3 separate regions of the Homo sapiens genome follow, and all the other regions are linked to region 2. The links are contacts of gene promoters, found by promoter capture Hi-C in human tissues and cell types (Jung and others, 2019). All regions are on one chromosome and are shown on one strand. The core of a region is centred on a gene start or on the middle of the fragment in contact, and the rest is flanking DNA. Distances in the headings are between cores, read along the strand shown. Region 1 has its middle 3.5 kb from the start of SECTM1. Region 2 holds the start of NARF (nuclear prelamin A recognition factor). Region 3 holds the start of UTS2R (urotensin 2 receptor).

Evidence for each region. Contacts are between HindIII fragments. The study calls those that stand out against the background at their distance.
Region 1: a fragment that was not itself captured here is called in contact with the fragment with the promoter of NARF in region 2 in 3 of the 25 tissues and cell types used here (IMR-90 fibroblasts, dorsolateral prefrontal cortex and lymphoblastoid cells).
Region 3: a contact is called between the fragment with the promoter of UTS2R here and the fragment with the promoter of NARF in region 2, in 2 of the 25 tissues and cell types used here (lymphoblastoid cells and stomach).

Annotation. Positions count from the first base shown.
Region 1 is chr17:82,335,828-82,338,777 of GRCh38, reverse strand. No RefSeq gene overlaps it. Among named protein-coding and RNA genes, the nearest start is that of SECTM1, 3.5 kb to the right of the region's middle. The HindIII fragment of the contact is 4,127 bases long and covers 1-2,950 here.
Region 2 is chr17:82,457,436-82,460,391 of GRCh38, reverse strand. NARF (nuclear prelamin A recognition factor) reads right to left here and starts at 1,651. Exons shown (of 11, transcript NM_012336.4): 1 at 1,562-1,651; 2 at 320-400. The coding sequence starts at 1,588. NARF-AS2 (NARF antisense RNA 2) reads left to right here and starts at 1,873. Exons shown (of 3, transcript NR_184099.1): 1 at 1,873-2,719; 2 at 2,844-2,954. RefSeq lists enhancers at 897-1,729, 2,163-2,312 and a silencer at 1,313-2,132. The HindIII fragment of the contact is 15,922 bases long and covers 1-2,956 here.
Region 3 is chr17:82,370,072-82,373,102 of GRCh38, reverse strand. It overlaps UTS2R (urotensin 2 receptor), which reads right to left and starts at 1,338. Exons shown (of 3, transcript NM_018949.3): 1 at 1,056-1,338; 2 at 320-505. The HindIII fragment of the contact is 34,629 bases long and covers 1-3,031 here.

The DNA of each region.
Region 1 (2,950 bases), core at 48-2,547, 120 kb after region 2:
TCTCCTATGACCACCCAGCATTCCTATCTCATTGGCTAGGAAGGATTACTATTAAAAGTATTTTCTCTTTCTCTCTTTCTCTCTCTCTCTCTCTCTCTTTGAGGCAGGGTCTCGCTCTGTTGCTCAGGCTACAGTGCAGTGGCCTGATCTCGGTTCAATGCAGCCTCGACCTCCCAGGCTCAAGAGATCCTCCTACCTCAGCCTCCCAAGTAGCTGGGGCTACAGGCACTGGCCACCACGCCCGGCTCATTATTTTATTTTTGTGAAGATGGGTCTCACTGTGTTGTCCAAGCTGGTCTCAAATTCCTGGCCTCAAGAGATTGTCTCACTTCAGCCTCCCAGAGTGCTAGGATTACAGGCATGAGCCATCGCACCCAGCCCTAAAAATGCCATTCTTTCTAAAATTAAGCTATAACAGCTGGGCACGGTGGCTCACGCCTGTAATCCCAGCACTTTGGGAGGCCAAGGTGGGTAGATTATGAGGTCAGGAGTTAGAGACCAGCCTGGCCAACACGGCAAAACCCCGTCTCTACTAAAAATACAAAAATTAGCCAGGTGCACGCCTCTAATCTCAGCTACTAGGGAGATTGAGGCAGGAGAATTACTTGAACCCGGGTGGTGGAGGTTGCGTGAGGTGAGATCGTGCCATTGCACTCCAGCCTGGGCAACATAGTGAGACTCCATCCCCCCCAAATAAATAAATAAATAGAATTAAAATAAAGTGAAGCTATAAAGACAGTGAAATCCCAAAAGAAATACCAAGAAGATTGGCAAGTGAAGGGGCTCAGGGCAACATAACTGGATGTTCGAGGAGCACAGCCTTTTCAGGTGGAAAATAACAAGCTGGGTTGTGGATTCCACCAAAAGCAGAAACACATGCTGGGTAAGAATTTAAAATTAGCCTCATATTTTAAAACTTCCGAATATTATAAAATAGATAAATTAGAATTAGGTTAGCACAAGACAAGAACAAGAGCAACAAAACGACAAAGACTGAAGCAAACATTTTAGACTTTTTATCTGTGGTGCCTGCCTGTGGTGCCAGCTACTCAGAAAGCTGAGGCTGGAGGATCGCTTGAGCCCAGAAGGTCAGGGTACATTGAGCTACGATCCTGCCAGTGAACAGCCACTGCAAGCCAGCCTGGTCAACTACAGGAGACCCCATCTCTTAAAAAAAAAAAGCCTCCAAATATATGATTAAAAATTCCTAGAACCACAAGAAGAGGCTGCTAAGCCCCCACCATAGGAGGCCATTCCAACCTATCTCTCTTAATTACTGATAGCTCAAGCCCATACAAATTGACAAGTATATAAAAATACAAAAAATTAGCTGGGCGTGGTGGCGGGCGCCTGTAGTCCCAGCTGCTGGGGAGGCTGAGGCAGGAGAATGGCGTGAACCCGAGAGGCGGAGCTTGCAGTGAGCTGAGATCGTGCCACTGCACTCCAGCCTGGGCGACAGAGCGAGACTCCGTCTTAAAAAAAAAAAATTGACAAGTATATAAAAGACCTAACCTACCCCACTGACACCTTGACAGGAGGGACACCTGCAGAGACCCTTGCTCCCAACAGTCAGAGAATATTACATGTTGGAAGGACCCGTGAGACCCTTCCAGCCAGTGAGCAGTGGGTACAACTGAGTCATGCACAAATCTGTGGGGCCGGTTGGCTCGGCTCCCAGGAGGCTGCGAGTCTGTCCACGGGCCGAGGGCTTTGGGGGGCGGCCCCCAGGTGGCCGGGGGTGCGCGGGCAGAGTGAGCAGGACAGTGGGAGGGTCAGAGGCCCTTTCATAAAAGTGCGCAGAGCAGAGGAGCGATCCCCCTAGCTCCCCCACAGAGGGTGCTGCACCTGCGGCCCCTGCGGAGGTACTGGCTTGGCCAGCCCGGGAGGAGGGGCCCAGCCTGTTGGGACAGGAGATGGGGTGCAGGTGGAAGGCTCCAAGAGGCATCTGGGCTGGTAACGCGCAGACATCCCAGGTGGGTTGGAAGTGGGTCAAGGAGGCCTGGAGGACCCGGTGCCTGTGGGGGTGGCAGGCGGGCCACATCCTCCACTAGAACCCGAGGTGGCGGCGGGGTCAAGGATGACGAGTTATCTTCGGGACATTAGGAGGAAGCCCCACAGGCTGCAGTCACGTGGGTGGGCAAGGATGAAAGGCAAGGGAACCCAGAGAATCAAGTTACAAAGAAAAGCAAATGCCGCCAGCACAGTGGCTCACGCCTGTAATCCCAGCACTTTGGGAGGCCGAGGCGGGTGGATTGCCTGAGCTCAGGAGTTCAAGAAAAAAAAAGCCTGGCTAACATAGTGAAACCCGTCTCTACCAAAAATAAAATAAATAAATAAATAAAAGCTGGGCGTGGCGGCACGTGCCTGTAGTTCCAGCTACTCAGGAGGCTGAGGTAGGAGAATCGCTTGAACTAGGGAGGCGGAGGTTGCAGTGAGCCGAAATCGCACCACTGCACTCCAGCCTGGGCGACAGAGCAAGACTCTGTCTCCAAAAAAAAGAAAAGCAAATGCTCCAGGACCTTGGGGATTTTAAGAATATGCTGCCGAATAATTTGGAGAGTTAAACAGAAAATCATAACTGAAATCTACAAATTCCTCGAACAGAAAGGAAATGAAACTCCACATGTCACCTGGCACAGCAGAGGCTGTGATTCAAGGACAGGCTGAGGGTGAATGAATCCACACATCCGCTCTAAGATGCCTGATCCCAGCATTGTATAGAAATGGAAAGATACGGCCGGGTGCAGTGGCTCACGCCTGTAATCCAGCACTTTGGGAGGCCAAGATGGGCGGATCACAAGGTCAGGAGATCCAGACCATCCTGGCTAACACGGTGAAACCCCGTCTCTACTAAAAATACAGAAAAATTAGCTGGGCGTGGTGGCGGGCGCCTGTAGTCCCAGCTACTCAGGAGGCTGAGGCAGGAGAATGGTGTGAACCCAGGAGGCAG
Region 2 (2,956 bases), core at 402-2,901:
CCAGGGTCAAGCAATTCTCCTGCCTCAGCCTCCTGAGTAGCTGGGATTACAGGCGTACACCACCATACCTGGATAATTTTTGTATTTTTAGCAGAGATAAGGTTTCACCATGTTGGCCAGGCTGGTCTCAAACTCCTGACCTCAAGTGATCCGTCCACCTCGGCCTCCCAAAGTGCTGGGATTCCAGGCGTGAGCCACCATGCCCGCGTACTTCAGTCTTCTTTAAAGCAGTGATGTGCACGGTGCTGTGAGCCCCCAAAGAGAAAAACAGCAGCAGTAGTTTACTCTGGGCTGATACAAAACTGAAAAATCTACTTGCCTCTCCATTTTCCTGGGCTGGACTCGGTGCATCGGCTGACACATTCTCTTGGTCATCAGTTTTTGTTTTCTTACTACATTCCTTAAAAAAGCAAAGGAACATTATCAATGAACTTTTACTTCGTCTCCCTTAAGAAAATGTGCACATTCTGACCAATGAAGCTCATGTATTTCTATCCTTTCTTTTAGTTTATTTATTTATTTTTTTAGACGGAGTCTCGCTCTCACCCAGGCTGGAGTGCAGGGGCGCAATCTCGGCTCACTGCAGCCTCCACCTCCCGGGTTCAAGCGATTCTCCTGCCTCGGCCTTCTGAGTAGCTGGGATTACAGGTGTGCGCCACCACACCCAGCTAATTTTATATTTTTAGTAGAGACTGGGTTTCGCCATGTTGGCCACGATGGTCTTGAACTGCTGACCTCAGGTGATCCACCCGCCTCGGCCTCCCCTCCCAAGGTGCTGGGATAACAGGCTTGAGCCACCGTGCCTGGCCTTCTATCCTTCTAACCCTTCTAGTGAAACAGGTACTGAAGGACACACACACATCTCTATTGTTTACAATAATAAAAAAGCAGAAGCAACTGTAGCCTTCACCCCACAGGCGAATTCCCCTGGACACAGGTGTACTTAGAATAGGACGCAGCCACCACCGGGGATGAACGACCCATGGAATGTTAGGAAGCCTCCTGCCACGGCGTCACGCGCAGAAGTGCCAGCCACAGAGCAGCATCCACAGGAGCCCATTCCGGCAATAACAGCTACAAAACCCCCCTGCGTGCGCTGCGCGGTTGTTGCCATGGCCTGGAGACAACCGCGGAAGGCGCCGGTCAGCAGCCGTCACCCGCTTCCGCCCCTGCACCGGCTGCTCGGTGACCCTCAGAGGGGCAGGTTCGAAAACGCCTAAAACCCTCTCGAAACGCTTCTGATCATTCCCGCCACGACCGCTGTTTACTCGGACTGTGGTGCGCGGCACGAGAGGCTCGGTCTCCGTGCGTTTCCGCGCTTCGCGGGCGTGGGAAAGATGGACAAGTTCAGGGAGAACCGCGAAGACCGAACCCGCCCTGCAGAGCGCAGCGGACCCCGCGCCGGCCGCCTCCACGCCGAGCGGGCCCAGGGTGCCGAGGCCGGGGGCGCCTTGAAGAGCCCTGAAGCGAGCGAGCGGCGGGCCCGGACCGCCAACCTCGGCCGCCCAGAGCCCCACAGGACAAGCACCAGGCGCGCGCCTCCCCGGCCCGCGGCGCTCACCTTGCGCGTGCAGTGCTCACACTTCATCTGGAGCGCGGCGGGCGGGAGGCCGGGCGCCTCAGCCTCAGGGAAGCACCGGGAGACTGGGACACCACTGCCCGCCGCCCGCGGCCCTTTGTTGTCCTCCCCCGACGCGGCCTCACCCCCAACGGCCGCGCTCGGCCAATGAGAGCACCGGGAGAGGACAAGCCGCACCCCTGGGCCAATAGGATTCCCCACCCTTACGGCTTTGCCTAGGCCAATGACAGTGTCGGGAAGGGGCGGGCCAGGCCCCAGAGCCAATCGGAGCGCGCGGGGCGGACCGCAGGCTCACTCCACGTACGGCGCCGGGGGGACCGGGTCCTTGCGCCGGTTTCCGCTTCTCGTGGGTCCTGCGGCGGCGGCGGCGGCCAAGCGGCGTTCACCAGGGAGTCGGTGAGCGCGCGGACTGTCCCGAGGCCAAGCTGGGGCCGTTCCAGGGTGCTCGGTCCGGTGGTCACGGGGCCTGGAGGCCCCTGGGCCCGCGGAGGCCGCGGCCGGGCTCTGTCAGCCAGCTCGGCGTTGGACACTCGCCTTACTCGCGGCTCCTAACGGGGCGGGCCGGGGGCACAGCCCTCGTCCGCCGCCATTGCCACTTGACGTCGTGTCACGTAGGCTCGGCGGAGTAGCAGCGCGCATGCGCGGCCTGCCTGTCAGTAACCACGTGATGGACCCGGAAGCCCGAGGGCAGATGCTAAATGATGGCCATTTGACATTTGCGTGTGTTCACTATGGATAGTTTTACCAAGTACATTGATTTGGGCCCTTACAGCTTACAAAGTAAAGATAACACTTACTCCTCCAAGAAATTGATTTCAGCTAAGCAAAACATTGATACAGGGCTATAATGGAAGTGTTGGACTCATAAACGTTTTATGAAATCAGTGTGTGTGTATTACAGAAATCAGAAATGAGAAGTAAGAACATGTCTGGGAGAGTGTGACATAAGAAAAATAACTTGTAGGCGTATTTAACAGACAGCAGCAGTTCTCAGGATTCCCCATGTTAGAGCCTTCCTTCCTGTCCTCTGAGAAATGAAAATGAAATCCAAAGACCCCCAACTGACTACACGAACCCCCTACTGGCTAAGGAGATCCCAGGGTTGCCTTGAAGGCAGTTCTCAGCCATGACAGATGGGAGGTGAGACACCTGTTATTAAGGCCAACCCTTGGCTAACTACCATTAGGTTTTCTTGGCTAAGAGCTTAACGGAAACCAGCGCTTTCGAAAGACTCCACCGCTGATAACAACTCTCTCATTTGCAGTTTCGGCCCAATTGACCAGTATTCCTTACTGATAAGAGACACTGACCATGGAGTGGTTCTGGTGAGATGACATGACCCTCGTGAAGGGGCCTGAAGCTTCATTGTGTTTGTGT
Region 3 (3,031 bases), core at 89-2,588, 87 kb after region 2:
TAAGGAAAAGACAAACAACCCATTTGAAAAAAAGAGACCAAAACCGTGACCGGGGACTTCCTGAAAAGGACACCCACGCAGCCAACAAGCAGGGAAATGCCAGTCAGGGCCACAGGAGCCCCTGCGTGCTGACAAGGATGAACGCGTGAAAAGGCAGATATCCTTGTCAACAGGCGTGGGGGCTGTGGAGGAGCTGGCCCTGCCGTTTCCTGTTGCTGGGAACCTGGACTGTGCCGCCGCTTTGGAAAGCCATTGGCACGATTTGCAGAGTTGACCGCCTATACCTTCTCACCCGGCAATTCTACTCTCAGGTTAGTACCTTAGATAAAGGGCTGCCAACGTTCAGAAAATGACAAGCGTGCGAAAGTTCACGGCAGCTTGACTCCTAAGAAGCTGGAAACAGCTCAAATGTCCCCAGTGGACGGGGCAGGCAAACTGTGACATGAAGCCAGTGAAGGAGTCGCCGCTGGGGTCAGCAGCCTGGATGAAACAGCGCGGTGGTGGGCTGAAGAAACAAGACACAGGAGGCTGCCTGATTCCACGAGCCACGCTGAATTTAGGCCGAACACTCATGGCTGCGCAGGGAGCAGTCTTGGCTGGGGTGGGGAGTTGTCAACAGGTGGGGGCGCTGGGGGCCTTCCAGGGCCTGGAAATGTGCCCTGTCCGCCCTTTCCCACCAGGCCGAGCAGCTCCCAGCTCCATCTGTCCAGGGGACCCTCACCCCCTTGCTGCCCCCACCCAGGGCATTTCCAGAGCCCTCACCCAGGGGACGGCGCAGAAGCCGAGGGTGCACCGGGCTCCCCAGTTGTGCGCGAGCCCGAGTCACGGGCAGGGGGACAGCGGCCGCCGGGCCGCTAGGATTGCTCCAGGGTCGCTAGGGGGGAAGGGGAGGGGCCGAAAGTTCCACGGCACGGGAGAAGCCGCCTCGCTGGACCCCGCTCCCCTCGCCCAGGGTGGGTTCCCACCGCGAAACCCCGGCCCAGCCCTGCGGAGGGCCCCGAAGGGCACAGACCCGGCAGTCCCCGCGCGCTCCCGGTCACCCACCGAGGACCCACCTGCCTCCGGTCACTGAGCGGCCAGACCTGCCCGCCGAGCCTGGGGTCGCGCGTGGGGGCAGCCGCTCGCGGCTCCAAACTCCTCGCGCAGCGGGGCCGCGGGGAACTTTCCGAGGCGCGCTCCCCTGTCCCAGCGCAGAGGGGGCGCGAGGGGCTCCGCGGTGGCCTCGGCTTCCAGAGCACACGGCAGGGGCGCCCGCCAGTCCCGCCACCAAAGCCGCGCCCCCCGCCCCGCGCCGGGTCTCTGCGCCGCCGCCACCTGCCCGCCGCCAGCTGGGAATGCGCCGCGCCCCGCGCCAGGGCCCGGTATTAAAATAACCCCAGCGGGCAGCAGGCGCGCGGAGGGGACGGCGCCGGGTGTCTAGGGGGCGGCGCTGACCGCGCGGCGCCGGGAAGACGCGGGGGTCGCGGGGCCGCAGCGGGGTCGGCGGAGGGTCCCAGGCGGGTCTCGCGTCTGCGTCTGCGGAGCGAAGCTGCCTCCAGCCCGGCTGCCCCAAGGCTGACCCCGCAGCCCCTCTTGGGTTCTCCGCCTCCAGCGTTCACCCCTGCGCCCCTCACGCCCGTGTTTGCAGGGCACGGAGCCTGGGATTCTCCGTGTCCACCAAGCCCTGGACCCGCCCGCGCGCAGGTGGGGGGCAGGAACACCCCTAAACCCCGAGAGGGTCATAGAAAGGAGGTAAGGGAGGGAGGGAGTCACCCGCCCAGGCGGGGACGGGCTCTTTGGGGGCCTTGACCCCGCCCCTGTTGCGGGTCTCCCACAGATGCTCTTAGAAGCCCACGCAGCCTCTCCAGGCCTCGGCAGGGACTCGTGGTGGCCACATCCACGGAAGTGACGCTGGGAGCTGCAGGGCCCCGCGGGGTAGGAGGAAGGACCCCACAGCCTCACCCTCGAGCCCCTGAGCTGGGTGCTGGCCCCCACTCGGTTTCACTTGCTGCTCGGAGGTAGGATGTGGGCCTTCACTCATGCTGAACCCCTGAAAGAAAAAGACACAGAACATTAATAAATTAGACTAGAGGAGAGCTGGAGAGCTGTGAACACGGGGTCTAAAGGGCCCCCAGCGAGGAGCTGGCCTCGCCCACTCCACTCCGCCCGGGGCTCATCTGCTGCCTGAGGCCGCGGACCGGCCCCTAAAGCTGAAGGGGTTCTGCTGGGGGAGAGGAGGTGGCCAAGTGTGAATGGCCGAGAGGCTCCTGCAATCAGCTGGATCCGGGGGAGCCCCAGATGCCCACCAGTCCCCTCCGTGGGACGTTTGCCACGTGCTGGGGAGGCGAGGCTGGGCTGGAGAGGGCGGGAAAAGTCCCTCTGGTCTCCGAGCGTCCGCTGGACGGAGCAAGGGTCACACAATAAGACAGTTCATTCTCTGTGAGCTGAAAACAGCCGAACTGAAACCAAATACAGCTGCAGCTTCCGACCCGAAAGGGGAGCAGCTCATCCTGCCTGTGCGCGGGAGGAAAGGGGGTGGAAGGCTGCCTCCGACGTGATGGTTCTGTGAGAGCTGATTACTAAGCTGGAGTCTAGGGGCTAGGGCTGGGGAAAAGCACTCAGGACCCAGAATGCCTGCTCCAAGAATTAAATTTCCCGCAAGCCAGCTGCCGAAACGATCTGCTGTCACCTCAGCCAGTTCACCGAGTAGCTGCTGAAACGACCTGCCCTGACACGAACACCGGGTTTTTTATTTTTTATTTTATTTTTTTATTATTTATTTATTTATTTTTTTGAGATGGGGTCTCACTCTTTCACCCGGGCTGGAGTGCAGTGGTGCGATCTCGGCTCACTGCAACCTCGGCTCACTGCAACCTCCACCTCCCAGGCTCAAGCAATTCTCCTGCCTCAGCCTCCCAAGTAGCTGGGATTACAGGCACCCGCCACCACACCCAGCTAATTTTTGTGTTTGTAGTAGACGGGGTTTCATCATGTTGGCCGGGTAGGTCTCGAACTCCTGAGCTCAGGTGATCTGCCCACCTCAGCCTCCCAA